Regions from separate parts of the Homo sapiens genome. Here region 1 is linked to region 2. The links are contacts of gene promoters, found by promoter capture Hi-C in blood cells and fetal thymus (Javierre and others, 2016). All regions are on one chromosome and are shown on one strand. The core of a region is centred on a gene start or on the middle of the fragment in contact, and the rest is flanking DNA. Distances in the headings are between cores, read along the strand shown. Region 1 overlaps MAN2C1 (mannosidase alpha class 2C member 1). Region 2 holds the start of PPCDC (phosphopantothenoylcysteine decarboxylase).

Evidence for each region. The method cuts DNA at HindIII sites, captures the fragments that hold promoters and counts their contacts. A CHiCAGO score of 5 or more calls a contact.
Region 1: a contact is called between a fragment that was not itself captured here and the fragment with the promoter of PPCDC in region 2, in 1 of 17 cell types (neutrophils). The highest score is 5.5, in neutrophils.

The regions. Positions count from the first base shown.
Region 1 is chr15:75,358,061-75,361,430 of GRCh38, reverse strand. MAN2C1 (mannosidase alpha class 2C member 1) reads left to right here. Exons shown (of 26, transcript NM_006715.4): 11 at 50-145; 12 at 240-385; 13 at 743-866; 14 at 1,220-1,341; 15 at 1,443-1,528; 16 at 1,656-1,811; 17 at 2,006-2,103; 18 at 2,278-2,372; 19 at 2,623-2,727; 20 at 2,813-2,969; 21 at 3,087-3,230. Among named protein-coding and RNA genes, the nearest start is that of MIR631, 6.1 kb to the right of the region's middle. The HindIII fragment of the contact is 940 bases long and covers 1,018-1,957 here.
Region 2 is chr15:75,022,077-75,025,406 of GRCh38, reverse strand. It overlaps PPCDC (phosphopantothenoylcysteine decarboxylase), which reads right to left and starts at 1,817. Exons shown (of 6, transcript NM_021823.5): 1 at 1,781-1,817. The HindIII fragment of the contact is 7,713 bases long and covers 1-3,330 here.

The DNA.
Region 1 (3,370 bases), core at 238-2,737, 340 kb before region 2:
CAGCCCTGACTCTGGCCTCTCTGCCCTGCTTCTGTTTCCCTGCTGGTAGCACCATACATTTTTCTGGGAGGGCCTGGATGGCTCCCGTGTACTGGTCCACTTCCCACCTGGCGACTCCTATGGGATGCAGGGCAGCGTGGAGGAGGTGAGGGGTCACCTAGGGTGGTGGGGTAGGGGCAGGCTGGAGAGGGCTGGCTTGTTCCAGGCTGATCCATGCTGGCCTGCCCTCACCTGTCTAGGTGCTGAAGACCGTGGCCAACAACCGGGACAAGGGGCGGGCCAACCACAGTGCCTTCCTCTTTGGCTTTGGGGATGGGGGTGGTGGCCCCACCCAGACCATGCTGGACCGCCTGAAGCGCCTGAGCAATACGGATGGGCTGCCCAGGTCAGGCCAGGCCTTGGCTCTCCTTTAGCCCCACCCTGGGCCCTTGCCATGAGCCCTGCCTTCCCTCAGACATTGGGCCCAACCCCTCCTCTGGACCTTGTCCTGTCCCAATCCTAGACCACGGGTTCCTCCAAACTTCCACCCTGGGGGTGGGTGGGGGAGAAGCTGAAGCTGGTAAGGGCTCCAGCCCATCAGAGAGAGAGGCTCTCCTAGGGCGTCCAGGGCTGGCCATCTGTGAACGGGGAGCTTTCTGGAGTGGCTCCTCTCTGTAGGAGCTGGATCCTTTGCTTTGGTGTGGAAGAAGGGTGAGCCATGTGGTCTCCAAGGCTGGGAGACCTAGGCTTGTGGTCTCCTCAGGGTGCAGCTATCTTCTCCAAGACAGCTCTTCTCAGCACTGGAGAGTGACTCAGAGCAGCTGTGCACGTGGGTTGGGGAGCTCTTCTTGGAGCTGCACAATGGCACATACACCACCCATGCCCAGGTCAGGGGGAGGTTGCAGGGCTGTGCAGGGAGGGTGTGCCCTTGATCTGCAGAGGGTCAGAGAAGGCAGCAGGGGACAGAGCCCAGGCCAGATCTAGGGGAAGAGAAGTTTGGAGGAGAGAAGTTCAAGACCTGGGTTGGTCAAGAAAGCTTGAAGGAGGCAGAAACCCCTGAAGAAAGAAGGGTTTGGGCTGCGGGGAGAAGAGGGAAGGCATTTAAGGCAGGTCACCCGCCAGAGGCCTTCTCCACGAGGCCCTTGGTGAGTCCTCAGGGATTCTGAGCAAGGGAGGGCTTTGGAAGGTGTCCTGGGACAGCTAAGCAGGCTCCAGACTAATCTTCCCATCCTGGGCTCAGATCAAGAAGGGGAACCGGGAATGTGAGCGGATCCTGCACGACGTGGAGCTGCTCAGTAGCCTGGCCCTGGCCCGCAGTGCCCAGTTCCTATACCCAGCAGCCCAGCTGCAGCACCTCTGGAGGTCAGCCCAGTTCTGTCCCTGCCATCCACCTGACTGCTCACTGCAGTTACCTCTGTGCCTGCCCCTCCCAGCCTTCCCATCCCTGCCCTTGGCCCCTGCAGGCTCCTTCTTCTGAACCAGTTCCATGATGTGGTGACTGGAAGCTGCATCCAGATGGTGGCAGAGGAAGCCATGTGCCATTATGAAGGTTAGGCTCACAATAGTCCTGCCTGCTCTCTCCAACCCCAGGGCTGAGCCCAGAGTGTCCCCTGTGGGATACCCATGGGCACATTCCAGACCTGTTGCCCACCTATGACCAGCCAGTCTTTCCTCAGACATCCGTTCCCATGGCAATACACTGCTCAGCGCTGCAGCCGCAGCCCTGTGTGCTGGGGAGCCAGGTCCTGAGGGCCTCCTCATCGTCAACACACTGCCCTGGAAGCGGATCGAAGTGATGGCCCTGCCCAAACCGGGCGGGGCCCACAGCCTAGGTACGAGCTGAGGGGAAGGGTTGCTACTGCAGCAGGAAGGATGGAGGCCAGACAGATCAGGCCTGGGATACCCCGAGGGATCTGGGTGCCCCTGACTGGAGAGTAGTAGCACATCTTCCACCAACCCATCCCCACCTGCGCAAGCTTCCTGAAAGGTCAGGAAGGCTGCACTGATGCCCAGGCCTCACCCCCAGCCCTGGTGACAGTGCCCAGCATGGGCTATGCTCCTGTTCCTCCCCCCACCTCACTGCAGCCCCTGCTGCCCCAGCAGCCTGTGTTCGTAGTGCAAGAGGTGAGTCCTGCATGCCCTGGGGGGCAGGAACTGTGCTGGGATACTTTCTTACAACTGAGGGTCCTGAGCTCCCCTGTCTGGAGCAAGTGGTGAGGCGGGGCTGGGGTTGGGGTGGGAAGACTTTTGGTGTGGGAAGCCCCTACAGACTCAGCCTCAAGGCCTCCTCCCACAAAGACTGATGGCTCCGTGACTCTGGACAATGGCATCATCCGAGTGAAGCTGGACCCAACTGGTCGCCTGACGTCCTTGGTCCTGGTGGCCTCTGGCAGGTGCCAAATCCTCATTGCCCTTTCCCAGTGCCTGGCAAGTAGACCCCAGGCCATTTCCTCTCTCCCCTTGCCACAACACTGCCCACAGCAGCCCACCAGTGGCTCTGGGCTGGAACCCACACATGGAGCAGGGCAGGCTGGGCAGTAGTCCCCTGTCCACTGGGTCTACTCACTCCACCCTACCCCACCAAGAGCAGCTGGAGACAGCGAGGTCAGTTGGTTGTACAGCACCAATCCCATGTCCTTCCAGGGAGGCCATTGCTGAGGGCGCCGTGGGGAACCAGTTTGTGCTATTTGATGATGTCCCCTTGTACTGGGATGCATGGGACGTCATGGACTACCACCTGGAGACACGGTATAGGCTGGGCAGCATGTGGGGATGGTGGAGGTGGTGGGAACACAGGCTGCTCTGGATCAGTATGTCCACCCCTGTCCCATAGGAAGCCTGTGCTGGGCCAGGCAGGGACCCTGGCAGTGGGCACCGAGGGCGGCCTGCGGGGCAGCGCCTGGTTCTTGCTACAGATCAGCCCCAACAGTCGGCTTAGCCAGGAGGTTGTGCTGGACGTTGGCTGCCCCTATGTCCGCTTCCACACCGAGGTAGTCGGGGGGTAGGGGGTGGCTGTTTTCCCCAAGTGTGCTTGGTAAGGAGGGGCCAGCCCCAGGCCTTGGTGTGTCTCTTCCTTCCCTGACTCCCACCCTCCTTCCCACTCCCAGGTACACTGGCATGAGGCCCACAAGTTCCTGAAGGTGGAGTTCCCTGCTCGCGTGCGGAGTTCCCAGGCCACCTATGAGATCCAGTTTGGGCACCTGCAGCGACCTACCCACTACAATACCTCTTGGGACTGGGCTCGATTTGAGGTCTGACATGGCAGGGTGGGAGTGGCCTTGGACTCCTCCCTGGCTGGGGAGACTGCTTGTGTGGAACAGGCTGGGGAGGAAGAGGATAATCAACATTTGCTGCTTCCTAACGTGTGTGCCAGGCATTGCACTAAATGCTT
Region 2 (3,330 bases), core at 568-3,067:
ACTAAAGACAGAGCAAGGAAAGCAAGGCCAGACAGGGTATACGTTCAAGCTCAATACAGGAAGGATGAGAACTGAGCCTAAGACAAAGCAGAACCAAACAAGGGAAGTGGGTGGTGGGTAGGCAGGGATCCAAGATCCATTATGAGCCTGAATCCTTTAGCCTAACATCAAAGCCCCTCACTACCGGCTGCCCAGGCTTCTGCTCCAGCTTACACCTGTAATCCCAGCAATTTAAGAGGGCAAGGTGGGAGGATTGAGCAAACCCAGGTACTCGAGACCAGCCTGGGTAACATAGCAAGACCCCATACAAAAAATTTAAAAGTTAGTGAGGTGTGGTGGCACATGCCTGTGGTCTCAACTACTTGGGAGGCTGAGGCAGGAGGATCGCTTGAGCCTAGAAGGCTGCAGTGAGCCATGTTTGTGCCACTGCACTCCAGCCTGGGTGACAGAGAGAGACCATTTCAAAATATAATAATAGTACCACAAAAAAAAAAAAGTGTGTAGCTATTTACATAGCATTTACACTGTATCAGGTTTTATAAGTAATCTAGAGATTATTTAAATTATATGGAGGGCGTGGTGGCACGTGCCTGCAGTCCCAGCTACCTGGGAGGCTGAGGTGGGAGGATTATCTGAGCCCAGGGAGTTCGAAGATGCAGTGAGCTATGATTGCACCACTACACTCCAGCCTGGGAGACAAGAGTGAGACCCTGACTCAAAAAAAAAAAAAGAAAAGAAAAAAGAGTATACAGGAGGGTGATGTGGTGGCTCACACCTGTAATCCCAGCATTTTGAGAGGCCAAGGAAGGAGGATAGCTTGAGCCAGGAGTTTGAGACCAGCCTGGGCAACATGGTGAGACCCTGTCTCTACAAAAATGAAATAAAATAAAAATTAGCCGGGTATGGTTGTTTATGCCTGTGGTTCCAGCTACACAGGAGGCTGAGGCAGGAGGATCCCTTGAGCCCAGGAGGTCGAGGCTGCAGTGAGCCATGTTCCTGCCACTGCACTCCAGCCTGGGTCACAGAATGAGACCTTGTCTCAAAAAAAAAAAGTATACAGCAATCCCCTGCGGATACTGAGGGATAAATGTATCTAACACACACACTCACACACGTGGGCTACTAGAAAGGCAGTGACTGCGAATTGCTACTTCCCAGCCACTGTGAGAGATGTGGAAACCCCTGCTCCAGGACAACCACCACTTCCCCAACTTGGCAACCTCTCCTGCTCACCATCTAGCACCTGCTTCCAAATACTTCAAGGACAGCAGGAAGTTCTTTTCTGACAAGATTTGGCCTAATTTTTAAATAGCACTCAGCACTTTTTGGCAGGCCTAGGGCTACTTCCAACATCCCATGGCTTTCCTTTTTTAATTTTACCAACTTTTTAAATACACTTTGTACTTTGGGCAGCCCGGGTAAGCGTTCAGTGTGAGGAGCTGACACGGCCATCATTTAAACTAGATTAAACGACACTGGACAAATAATCGCAGAGCAGCACAAAGTCGGGCTGGACGGGTACAGATGCAAACCCTCCACTCAGGGCTCGGGGGTCCCTCCTGCTCCAGGCGGCCCCACCCGTACAGCCGGGAAAGTGAGGTCGCACAGATGGACGGCCGCCTACCCACGCACAGTCGCAAACAGAGCTTCATGGGCACACAGGGGAAAATAAGGACACACACAGACAGCCGTGGACCCACGCTCGCGGACACAGCTCCCCGAACCTCCCCTCCCGCGCCGCCGCGAGAACCCAGCTTCCCAGCCCCCTTCCACTGCTCACCCGCGCCAGGCGCGTCTCGGGGCCGCTCCCAAATATCGCGGTATCTCTGCCGCTCTCCCGCGGAATCTGACTGGCACGCCTCACGAGAGCACCGGGCTGGCTGTATGTCGCGCAGCCTTCTGGGAGCTGTAGTCCACTTCTCTGCCTTCCGGGAGTTGTAGTCCACTGGGGAAATCCTGGAGCAAACCCTGGCCCTGTTCTTTGTATTGCTGGGACTCTCGATAGGGGCTGGCATAACTGTCCGACCTCCTTTCCTCACTCCTATCAGCCCCACACACACTGCTTGTTGCTTGGGGCCTTTTTTTTTTTTTTTTTTTTTTTGCTGTTGTCCCAGGTTTATTGAAAATATTACAGTATCTCAAAAAGATTCAAACAGCTTCCACGTGGCGTTTTGAAATTCATCCCCACTGTTGGCTGAGTGACCTGCAGGTTGGACAGACTGCCAAAGTCCAAAAACATCAGCATTTCCTTAATGTCAGGATATGTTAATACTTCAATGATTTCCTGATCCAGGGCTGAGACCTCAGGAACATGATTATCTCTCCTTTCTCTCTTCTCCTCCTGCAACTTGATGCAGATACCTCTCACTGAGCGCTTCAAATCAGCTTCATCACATGCATGTTGTAGCCTGCTATCTTGTTGGGGAGCTGTTTTTTTTTTTGTTTTTTTTTTTTTTTTTGAGACAGGGTCTGGCTCTGTCACCCAGACTGGAGTGCGCAGTGGTGCTATCTCCACTCACTGCAACCTCCACCTTTTGGGCTTAAGCCATCCTCCTATCTCAGCCTATGGAGTAGCCAGGACTACAGGAGTGCACCATCATGCCAGACTAATGTTTGTATTTTTTGTAGAGACGGGTTCTCACTCTATTGCCCAGGCTGGTCTCAAACTCCTAGGCTCAAACAATCCGCCCACCTTGGCCTCCCAAAGTGCTGGGACTACAGGAGTGAGCCACCACGCTCGGCCCTGGGGAGCATTTTGCTGGAAATAATGGTGATCTCCTTGCACATGTGTTGTTTGTGTGGAAGTTGCTGCCCGGGTGTGTGTATTACTTTTTTATGACGAAGTATAGAAAAGGGCTATCTTCATGGTATTAGTGTGAATGGGGCCCATGTTGGCAGGTCCTTAGTAAAAGAGGGCTCGTGGCACTTAATATTTACCAAGCCTCTTCTATTTTAGGTGCACAGGATACAGAGATAAATCAGATGCGTCCCTGTTCTTGAGACAAACAGGGACACAGAAAATGACAGGGTAAGATCCTCCATGAGGAAGCAACACCTCTAGGCAGGAAAGCCTTCTTGAAGGAGTGACTTGAAATGAATCTTGAAGGACAGCCAGGAGGTTAGATAGAGGATCCCAATAGCGATCCAGGTGGAAGGCATCAAATGGGCAAAGGGAAGGCGGCAGAAGAACACACACTGGCATGCTTCCCTGCCCCCTTCATTTTCTAGCCTTCACAGGCCCCAGGAACCTCTGTATTCATTGAGGTGGCTGAACCAGCTGCGGGTCCCCTGCCCTGAGCTGAGGTGGGGCCTCTGCTCTACCCCCGCCCT